Regions from separate parts of the Homo sapiens genome. Here region 1 is linked to region 2. Evidence: promoter capture Hi-C in 16 types of primary human blood cells and fetal thymus (Javierre and others, 2016). All regions are on one chromosome and are shown on one strand. Each heading gives the region's core, a stretch centred on a gene start or on the middle of the fragment in contact. The rest is flanking DNA. Distances are from core to core; before and after follow the strand shown. Region 1 has its middle 31 kb from the start of ZHX2-AS1. Region 2 holds the start of DERL1 (derlin 1).

The links. The method cuts DNA at HindIII sites, captures the fragments that hold promoters and counts their contacts. A CHiCAGO score of 5 or more calls a contact.
Region 1: a contact is called between a fragment that was not itself captured here and the fragment with the promoter of DERL1 in region 2, in 14 of 17 cell types (neutrophils, total CD4 T cells, M2 macrophages and 11 more). The highest score is 8.7, in neutrophils.

What each region holds. Positions count from the first base shown.
Region 1 is chr8:122,748,780-122,753,123 of GRCh38, reverse strand. No RefSeq gene overlaps it. Among named protein-coding and RNA genes, the nearest start is that of ZHX2-AS1, 31 kb to the left of the region's middle. The HindIII fragment of the contact is 2,736 bases long and covers 786-3,521 here.
Region 2 is chr8:123,039,807-123,044,627 of GRCh38, reverse strand. DERL1 (derlin 1) reads left to right here and starts at 2,326. Exons shown (of 8, transcript NM_024295.6): 1 at 2,326-2,658. The coding sequence starts at 2,506. RefSeq lists an enhancer at 2,377-2,916. The HindIII fragment of the contact is 6,787 bases long and covers 947-4,821 here.

The sequences.
Region 1 (4,344 bases), core at 904-3,403, 290 kb after region 2:
GCTGGTTCTGAGGCATGCACTGATCCATTTCCACATGCTACATCTCTCCCTGCTGCTTCATGCCGGAACAGTTTCTTTCTTGCATCAGAGCTAATAAAAGAGTTACAGAGAATTCTTGGCCTCTCTGTCTTGTAATTCCAAACTTCAAAGAACAGGGTCTTCCCCAACATCATGTCTACAGCAACAGCAATCTATGTTTCTATTAGCAACTGTACGGATCCAAGCAAATACTGGCTGCACAAATCTCCTTAGGTCTGCAAAGTCCTGATCCAGCACTCAGTGAATGCTGCTGGAGCTGTTTTTTCTTTTTTTAAAATAAGCCCTTTAAATAATTATAGATTCACAGGAGTTGCAAAGATAGTACAAAGAAGATACATGTACCATTCACCCAGTTTCCCCCAGTGATTACATTTGACATACCTAGGGTACAACATCAAAACCGGAAAACTGACATGGGAACAATGTGTGTGCATTGTTCTATGTCATCGATCACATGTGCAGATTTATGTAATCTAGATACAGAATTATTCCATCACTTAGGCAATGATCTCCCTCTTGCTACCTAGCCCTTTATGGTCATGTCTACCCACTCTTCCCCCACCATTCCTAACTCTTGGCAACCACTAGTCTACTTTCCAAACTGGGATACTTTTGGGAGTAGAAGGGGATGACACCAGCCATCAATTATTATGCTAGGACAACAGGTGTAAACTGGGATATTTGGTCTCCTAATCAAATGTTTTATTTCTGGGTGTGTGGTTGGGAATGGAGTGGGGAATGAAGCTTGCAGTGAAGTTCTATAGCTTGGGATGAAACATTTTTCAAGAGCTGTCTGAGAGATTTTCCCCTTTGGGTGGAGGGAGCTTCCATTGTCCTGCTGTGTAGTATGTGCCCCAGCATCTAATCATTCTGCACTCTTGCTTGCAAGACAGTAGAATAGCTTCTGCCTTCTATAGAAGTAGCTGGAGTACAGGTTTAAGGATAATTCCTTGTTTTGCACCTACCTCAACCCACTGTGTCCTGCCCTGCACTCCCATTGCACCATGAAATTGTAATCACTCAAGTTACCACTGACTCTTCATTGCTACACCCTGTCCTTGAAAGGTTGGAATTTTCCAGAATATTGGCTCAAGCTCCTCTCTCACCCTGCACTCTCTTGCTGTGTCGTCTCACCACCCCATGTCTTTAATAATCACTTAGGGTGATGACATCCATGTTGGTTAATTTCTCAGACTACTGTTTCTGCACTGACCTGGCTTCCTGTGATGAGGCTTAGCATTTCCAGTCTGCACAGTGGCATTTATTCTAGCCTCTATACATTTGGGACTCTGGTTTAAAATTGCTTTTCTTTCTTCTCTTATCTAATCTCCCCTGCCTTGCTCCAAGTGAAGTATGGATCTAGTCTATATTTTGTACATGTAAGAAGGTTAGTGCACCAATAATCATCTGTTGAATAATCCTACTGACTTGTTTTAACTTTGTAGCATGATCAGGGAATACTCACTCTTTGATTTGCTTTTTGCATTTTAATTGATGCTATATACAAGCAGGTGCGCTGTGTTTTCTTCTAAGGATGTTCCCTTTCATTCTCAAGGCGACTGCTTTCTACTTGTCCTTTCCCACTTGTATTTCTTCTCAGTTTCCTTTTGTGCCCTAATCTTTTTTGGGGCTGGTATTTTGCTGTGGTTTTCCAAGAGGGGTACCCTGAGACAGCGGGTGACAATGAAAAATATCCCAGTATAGGAGCTACGTGTATAGAACTACATGACCTGGATCCTTCTATCCTTAATACCCAGCTCAGAAGCTAGTTCTTTGTGAAACTCTTTCTAGTTTCCCAATCAGAAATTATTTTCAGTTCTTTCAGGGTTCTTAAGCACTTCTTTTTAGCTCTGATTTTATCCTGCCTTGTGTCATAGGACACTTACATGCTGCTTTATTAGACTAACAACTCTTTGAGTACAGAGGTTTTTTTTTTTTTTTTTTTGACAGAGTTTCTCTCTTGTTGCCCAGGCTGGAGTGCAATGGCGTGATCTCAGCTTACTGCAACCATCACCTCCCAGGTTCAAGTGATTCTCCTGCCTCAGCCTCCTGAGTAGCTGAAATTGAAAGTGCCTGCCACCATGCCCAGCTAAGTTTTTGTATTTTTAGTAGAGTAGGGTTTTCACCTTGTTGGCCAGGCTGGTTTCGAACTCCTGACCTCAGGTGATCCACCTGCCTCAGCCTCCCAAAGTCCTGGGATTACAGGCATGAACCATGGTGCCTGGCTGAGACTGTGCTTTATTTTTCTTGGAGCCACCTCAATAGAATATTGTCTTGCATATGGTAGATGCTTAGGAAAGGCTTGTAAAAATAATAGTTGTGTGATCTTAGGTAAGTCACTCTTCCTCTCTGGTCATTTTTTATTTCCTTATCTATAAAATGAGGAAATACACAGGGTTGGAAAAGATGATCTTTAAAACTCCTTTCTGCTCAAGAATACTTCAAAAAAAGGTAGCTATCTCCCTTGCTAGCTCTGTGAATTCTAGAATTGTCATCTGGAACCAGTCTATGTCCCCTGGAGCCCCTAGTCTAACTTCAGAGAGAATTGTGAAGCAGAGTTCTTGTAGTACTGACAGTCTTTCTAGGCTTTATGCATGTACTACATTGTCAAAAATAAAATTTACTTCCACCCCAGACAAACCAACCAATCAAGCAAAGACTAGAAGAAAAAAGCACTCATATAAACATTCACATGCATCTACATATGCACTGCATGTATGTGAACACGCATCCCTTGTTTGTTGAAAAGAAAAGATTGCCTTATACCCAGAGAGATGATGAACAAGGAAGTAAGAGAATCAAACACATTAGTTCCCTTGCTTACTCTCTTTAGTTATTCTTTCCTCTTAGTTATTATTTATAATTTAAATATAACTATTGTTTAGGTGCAAGATATTTTTATTACAGTTTGTATGGAAGAACCTTAGCAAGAAAAAGCAATTTGCATATTTTTTCCTTAAAAAGAAAAAAAAGAAAGAAAAGAAAAAAAATGCTCTTCCTCTAACAACATCCTACAGTCCTTCTAAAATAAACCTTTCTTCTTAATTATTCCTGAATGGACATCTCAATCTGTTTCATATGAATGTAAAACTGTTGATACTAATTAAGAAAAAGAAAAACATGAGTAATTAGGAAAAATATTAAAAGTCTTTCTTACATTTGTAGAGGGCTTTGGAGTTAAATAAAATATGCTTTGTTATGAGTTATTTTATTTAATGATTAAAACAACCTATTGGAGGAAGTGAGTGAAGTGTTATAATCCCCATTTTATAGATGAGAAAACTGAGGCTCAGAGAGATTATCTTTCACAAAGTTATGCATTTAGAAAACTGCGGAGTTCATTTATAGTTCAGGTTTTTTGGACTCTAAACCTAATGCTCCATGTTGTAGGATTCCTAATATTTGATGATATCAACAACAATTTATGTGTTCAATATAGAGCTTTACCCAAGTTTGCAGTTTCCTGGCAGAAATAATAAGCTTCATTTCATCTGATGAAAGCTTTTGTTATTATCTTCTCATGTTGTTGGTATTAATTTTAGATGAGTGATTTTTGAAAATCCATTCACATAAATATTAAGTCCTACCATGCCCTTAGCCAGGTTGTCTGGTGGGGAGCTGTGTTTCTGGTTTTAGTTAACTCAGCTATGCTGTGGTTTGCTCTATACAAAGTCAGGTTTGAACACAGGGGCAATCGATGTCTCAGGTGTGATATGGAGGATGATGTGATGGTGTCTTATTGATGAGGCAGTGGGGACAGAAGGAGAAAGAGATCATTGTATCCTTGGAAAGAATTGGGGCAGACAACCTAGAGAAAGGGGTGCTTGAACTGAGGTCTTAATTAGAAGTAATTTTTTCCCATGTGGTAGGGAGCATGGAGCAGTCATTCTAGGGAAAGGAGGTGGTGTGAGCAAATGTATGAAGGAAACACAGAGCATGGTGCATTTCAGGAGATGCAGCCTGTTGTAGCTGGGTGAAGGAGCCTGTTTCAAGTGGGGATAGGCTGATAACTATGGTTTGGCTGTGTCCCCATCCAAATCTCACCTTAAACTGTAGCTCTCGTAATTCCCACGTGTTGTGGGAGGGACTCGGTGGGAGATTCAATCATGGTGTCAGATTCCCCCATACTGTTCTCATGGTAGGGAATAAGTCTTATGAGATCTGGTGCTTTTATAATGGGAAGTTCCTTTCGCTTGGCTTTCATTCTCTCTCTTGCCTGTGGCCATGTAAGCTGTGCTTTTCACCTTCTGCCATGATTGTGAGGCCTCCCCAGCCATGTGGAACTGCGATTCCATGAAACCTCTT
Region 2 (4,821 bases), core at 1,077-3,576:
CGAAGTTGAATTCCAGAGCATTCACTATGAATTCTAGAGCACAACTTAGAAATAAACACTGCCAGGCCGGGCGCGGTGGCTCACGCCTGTAATCCCAGCACTTTGTGAGGCCGAGGCGGGCAGATCATGAGGTCAGGAGATTGAGACCATCTTGGCTAACACGGTGAAACCCCGTCTCTACTAAAAATACAAAAAATTAGCCGGGCGTGCTGGCGGACGCCTGTAGTCTCAGCTACTCGGGAGGCTGTGGCAGCAGAATCGCTTGAACCCGGGAGGCGGAGCTTGCAGTGAGCCGAGATCCCGCCACTGCACTCCAGCCTGGGCGACAGAGCAAGACTCCGTCTCAAAAAAAAAAAAAAAAAAGAAATAAACACTGCCAGATATTGGGTGTACATTTTTCTTGTTCTTGTCTTTTCTCATGCACGTGTACTTTTAAGTTTATCAGAGAAACTTTCCTTAGCCCTCCACCTAAGCCAGATAACCCCTGTTTTCTTTCACTGTACCTTGGTTATGAGTAGTGGGTACAAAACAATGGTGGTGGTAGTAGAGGGAAATAAACAGAATAAACCTCAGGCAATATCGTCAAGTATTATCTGTTATTTATATAAATATCTAGCTTTTATATCAAAATTATCTTTTTGTAAGGCTGTATCAATTTATATTCCCACCAGCTGTGTTCTTCGTAGATTTGCTATCCATTGGTTCCCAAATGTTGTATACTCTCATTACACTGTGGAATATTTAATGCCTTTTTGTTATGAAAAAACTGTTTTTATTAATTAACATCAAGGATATGGTGCTGACAAATATTCTCTAAAATTATGGAATGTTGGAAACTCTGCTGTCTGACATCCTTTCCGTGTGAATGGAACATCCCATTCTTGTCCAGAGCATCTGAGCCATACAGGTCACTTTGACACAGGATTTTCAATACAGGTACAAAGCTTTAGATAGAGTTTTCAGACCCAACGTTTCACATTTGTCGTAATTTTGAGATTTCCAAGGAAAGAGCCTGCTTCCTACTCAGGTCTGATGTTAACCTGATGCTGCACACAGCTCTGCTTTGCTTCGAGTCTATCAAACACTGCTCCAGTTAATTCTTACCAAAAAATCCCCCCATTCCCATAACCCAATAATGACACTTCCGTTTGATGAGAGGCATTGAGGTTCCTCTGGAGTGCAGTCTCCCTTGCTGCAGCAAGTTAATAAATCTAACTTTGTTGACTACAGGTTTGTTCCTGGTGCTCTTTATTGGAAGACTTTAGCAATCTTAAACTGCTGGCCCCAAATCCCAAAACAACGGGAAACTCTACTCAGTATCTTTTCTTTTTTTCTTTTTTTTGAGATGGAGTCTGGCTCTTGTCCCCCAGGCTGGAGTGCAATGGTGCAATCTCGGCTCGCTGTAACCTCCACCTCCCGGGTTCAAGCGATTCTCCTGCCTCAGCCTCCCAAGTAGCTGGGACTACAGGCGCCCTCCACCATGCCCGGCTAATTTTTGTATTTTTAGTAGAGACGGGGTTTCATCATGTTGGCCAGGCTGGTCTCGAACTCCTGACCTCGTGATCCGCCCGCCTCGGCCTCCCAAAGTGCTGGGATTACAGGCGTGAGCCACCGCGCCTGGCCAGTATCTTTTCTTAAAGATTCCTTCTTATACAAGTTGAATTAGACAAGATGGATCATTTTGGCTTTTAGTTCCTCCAACATTCCAACCTAGTTAGAGCGGCTTTTCTCTGTGCATGGAAAATTCTTCCCCCAGATCTCTTGCCTGGCTGGCCCAGTTCATACCTAAGGTAGCCATCTGTCCTCACACTGCCGCACCCCCACCCCGTCACTCCACCTCATCATCTCATTTCATTTTCCTATTTTTCTAATCACTCTCTGAGATTATCTTACTTCATTATCTATTTGTTTATAAATTATCCCAATGAGGATGTTAAGATCAGGAGAGAGGGTACCACGACAGCGCTGACAGCCGCAGCTGCCCAGTGTCTAGAACTGTGCCCAACAAACACTTGTGGAATGAGTAAGCAGACGAGGAACTAGACACTTCGTTTGCCTTCGTCCCCTTTAAATACCCTCCAGGTGGACCCAGCCGCATTAAAACTCTGAGAACTAGGTGAATGGCATTTGGCCTCGCCACTGGCCGGAGCGTTTGCCGTTGATCCAGGCAACCACTGTTTTCCCACCAGTCGTGTAGTCGCTCTACCTGGCTCCGCCCCCCAGGACGCCGAGCCTCGGCCGGGCGGTAAAATCGGCGCTTACCCTTTAAGCGGCGGGACTTCTGGTCACGTCGTCCGCGGTCGCCGGAAGGGGAAGTTTCGCCTCAGAAGGCTGCCTCGCTGGTCCGAATTCGGTGGCGCCACGTCCGCCCGTCTCCGCCTTCTGCATCGCGGCTTCGGCGGCTTCCACCTAGACACCTAACAGTCGCGGAGCCGGCCGCGTCGTGAGGGGGTCGGCACGGGGAGTCGGGCGGTCTTGTGCATCTTGGCTACCTGTGGGTCGAAGATGTCGGACATCGGAGACTGGTTCAGGAGCATCCCGGCGATCACGCGCTATTGGTTCGCCGCCACCGTCGCCGTGCCCTTGGTCGGCAAACTCGGCCTCATCAGCCCGGCCTACCTCTTCCTCTGGCCCGAAGCCTTCCTTTATCGCTTTCAGGTACTTACCGGAGACGGGGGGCGTGGAGACTACAGGCCCCAGGAGGCCCAGCGGCGGCTAAGCGTAGGCTGGCATGTTGCGGGCGCGCGGTGCCTGCTGGGATTTGTAGTGGGTCCGGCGCCGGCGGTTTAGGGCGGGGTCCTTTGGGCCCGGGGAGGCTCTGGGATCTGGAGCGGGGTGCTGGATAGCTGGAGTTGTGGGCTGGCCTGGTGGGGAGGGGTTGACTTCACTGGTATAGTGAGATTGTGCTTCCCGCTCTTCGCACTCAGTGAAGGAAGCAGTGAGATTAGTCGTTGGTAGTTGTCAATCTGTTGGACGCTGGCGATTAGGTCCGCCTGGAGCATTGCCCTCTGACCTCCCTCTGTCACCCACGTGGGTGGCCTGTAGGTGTCAACTTCACCAACTTATAGCTGAGTTCCTTTCACGTTTATGGAGTTTTTTTGTTTTGGTTTTCCTATAGGAGTGATTTAAAGTCAGAGATACAAAGAACGAGTGTATTGTTCTGCATTTCCCTCTAGACCTAATTTAGTGTCCCCCACGTAGTAATAGAATGTACGAAGGAATGGGCAAAGAGTACATTTGTCCAGAAATGGAAGGCCTTGTTATTTTCTTAAGCATGAAGGAAACAGTCCAGAGTAACATTTCTGTCAAGAGAGTGCCAGTTTTCTGAAGGTTATCTGTATTCACCAATTTCTGATTTAAAACTTCAATCAGTGGCAGGTCAGATAGCAAGATCTGGCATTAATTTCAGCCCTTTACTTGGCCTATGGATAACATTTTCTTGTCTTTCCCTGTCTTCACTGGGTGTTACTTCTTGGTTTCCTTTGCTGGTTCCTTATCTTCCTGACTTTTAAATGTTAGGATGTGCCTTGGGAATCAGTTATAGGACCTTTTCTATAGACTCTCCCTAGCTTTAGGTGGTCTCATTCATTCAGCCTCAGGGCTTTACATACTTTCTATAAACTGGAGATTCTGAAATATAAATATAAATATCTTCAGTCCAGATCTGTCTCCCTATTTCCAGATTTGTGCATCCAGCAGTTACTTGAAATCACGACTTGGATGACTAAGAGTCATCTTCATCTTAACGTGTCCAAAACTGAATCCCCTTTCCCCCTTTGCCTTAGAAGTGAATAGCAACTCCGTTATTAGAGGAGCTGAAGTTAATTGTCGGAGTCATCTTTTATTTTTCTTGTTTTTCTCACACCCCACAATCTGTCAGCAAATCCTATTGACTCTACTTGAGACATATATCCAGAATACAATCCCTTTTCATTCTCCATTGCAAGCCATTATCACTGCAATCTGGTTCCTTTCCATCTTTTCTCTAGACAGCTAGAGTGATCCTTTTAAAACCTACATCAAGTCCTGTCTTTCCTCTGTCCAGAATCCTACCATGTCTTCTTAATGAGTAAAATCCAAGTCCTTTCAGTGGCCTGCAAGGCCCCTGCTGCTTCTCTGACCTCATCTCCTACTACTCTCCAACTTGTACCTTAGGCTCCACAATGAGATCCTTGCTGTTACTTCAGTGCTTATCTGGATCTCTCCTCAGGGCCTTTGCACATGTTGTTTCTCTGCCTGAGGAAGATAACCGTGGCTCAGTTGTTTACCTCCTAACCTTCTTCAGATCTCTGCCCAAATGCCGTCTTGTTGACAAGGCCTTCTCTGATGGCCGTACATAAAATAGCCCGTCCTTCACTCCACTCCCTTATCCCTTATCCTTCATTTTTCTTTCTTTCTTTCTTTTTTTTGGAGACGGAGTCTCGCTCTGTTGCCCAGGCTGGAGTGTATATGGCGCAATCTTGGTTCACTGCAACCTCTGTCTCCTGGGTTCAAGCAGTTCTCCTGTCTCAGCCTCCCAAGTAGCTGGAATTACAGGTGCACACCACCATGCCCAGCTAATTTTTGTATTTTAGTAGAGACGGGGTTTCGCCATGTTGGCCAGACTGGTCTTGAACTCCTGACCTCAGGTGATCCACCCGCCTCAGCCTCCCAAAGTGCTGGGATTAGAGGCGTGAGCCACTGAGCCTGGCCTTATCCTTCATTTTTCTTGCTACATATTACCCTTTGGTATTTATTAGTCTGCTTCCCCTCAGAGAATAAGGCTCCATGAGAGCCGTTCACCACTGTCCTTGTTACCTGGAATAGTGCCTGGGACGTAGT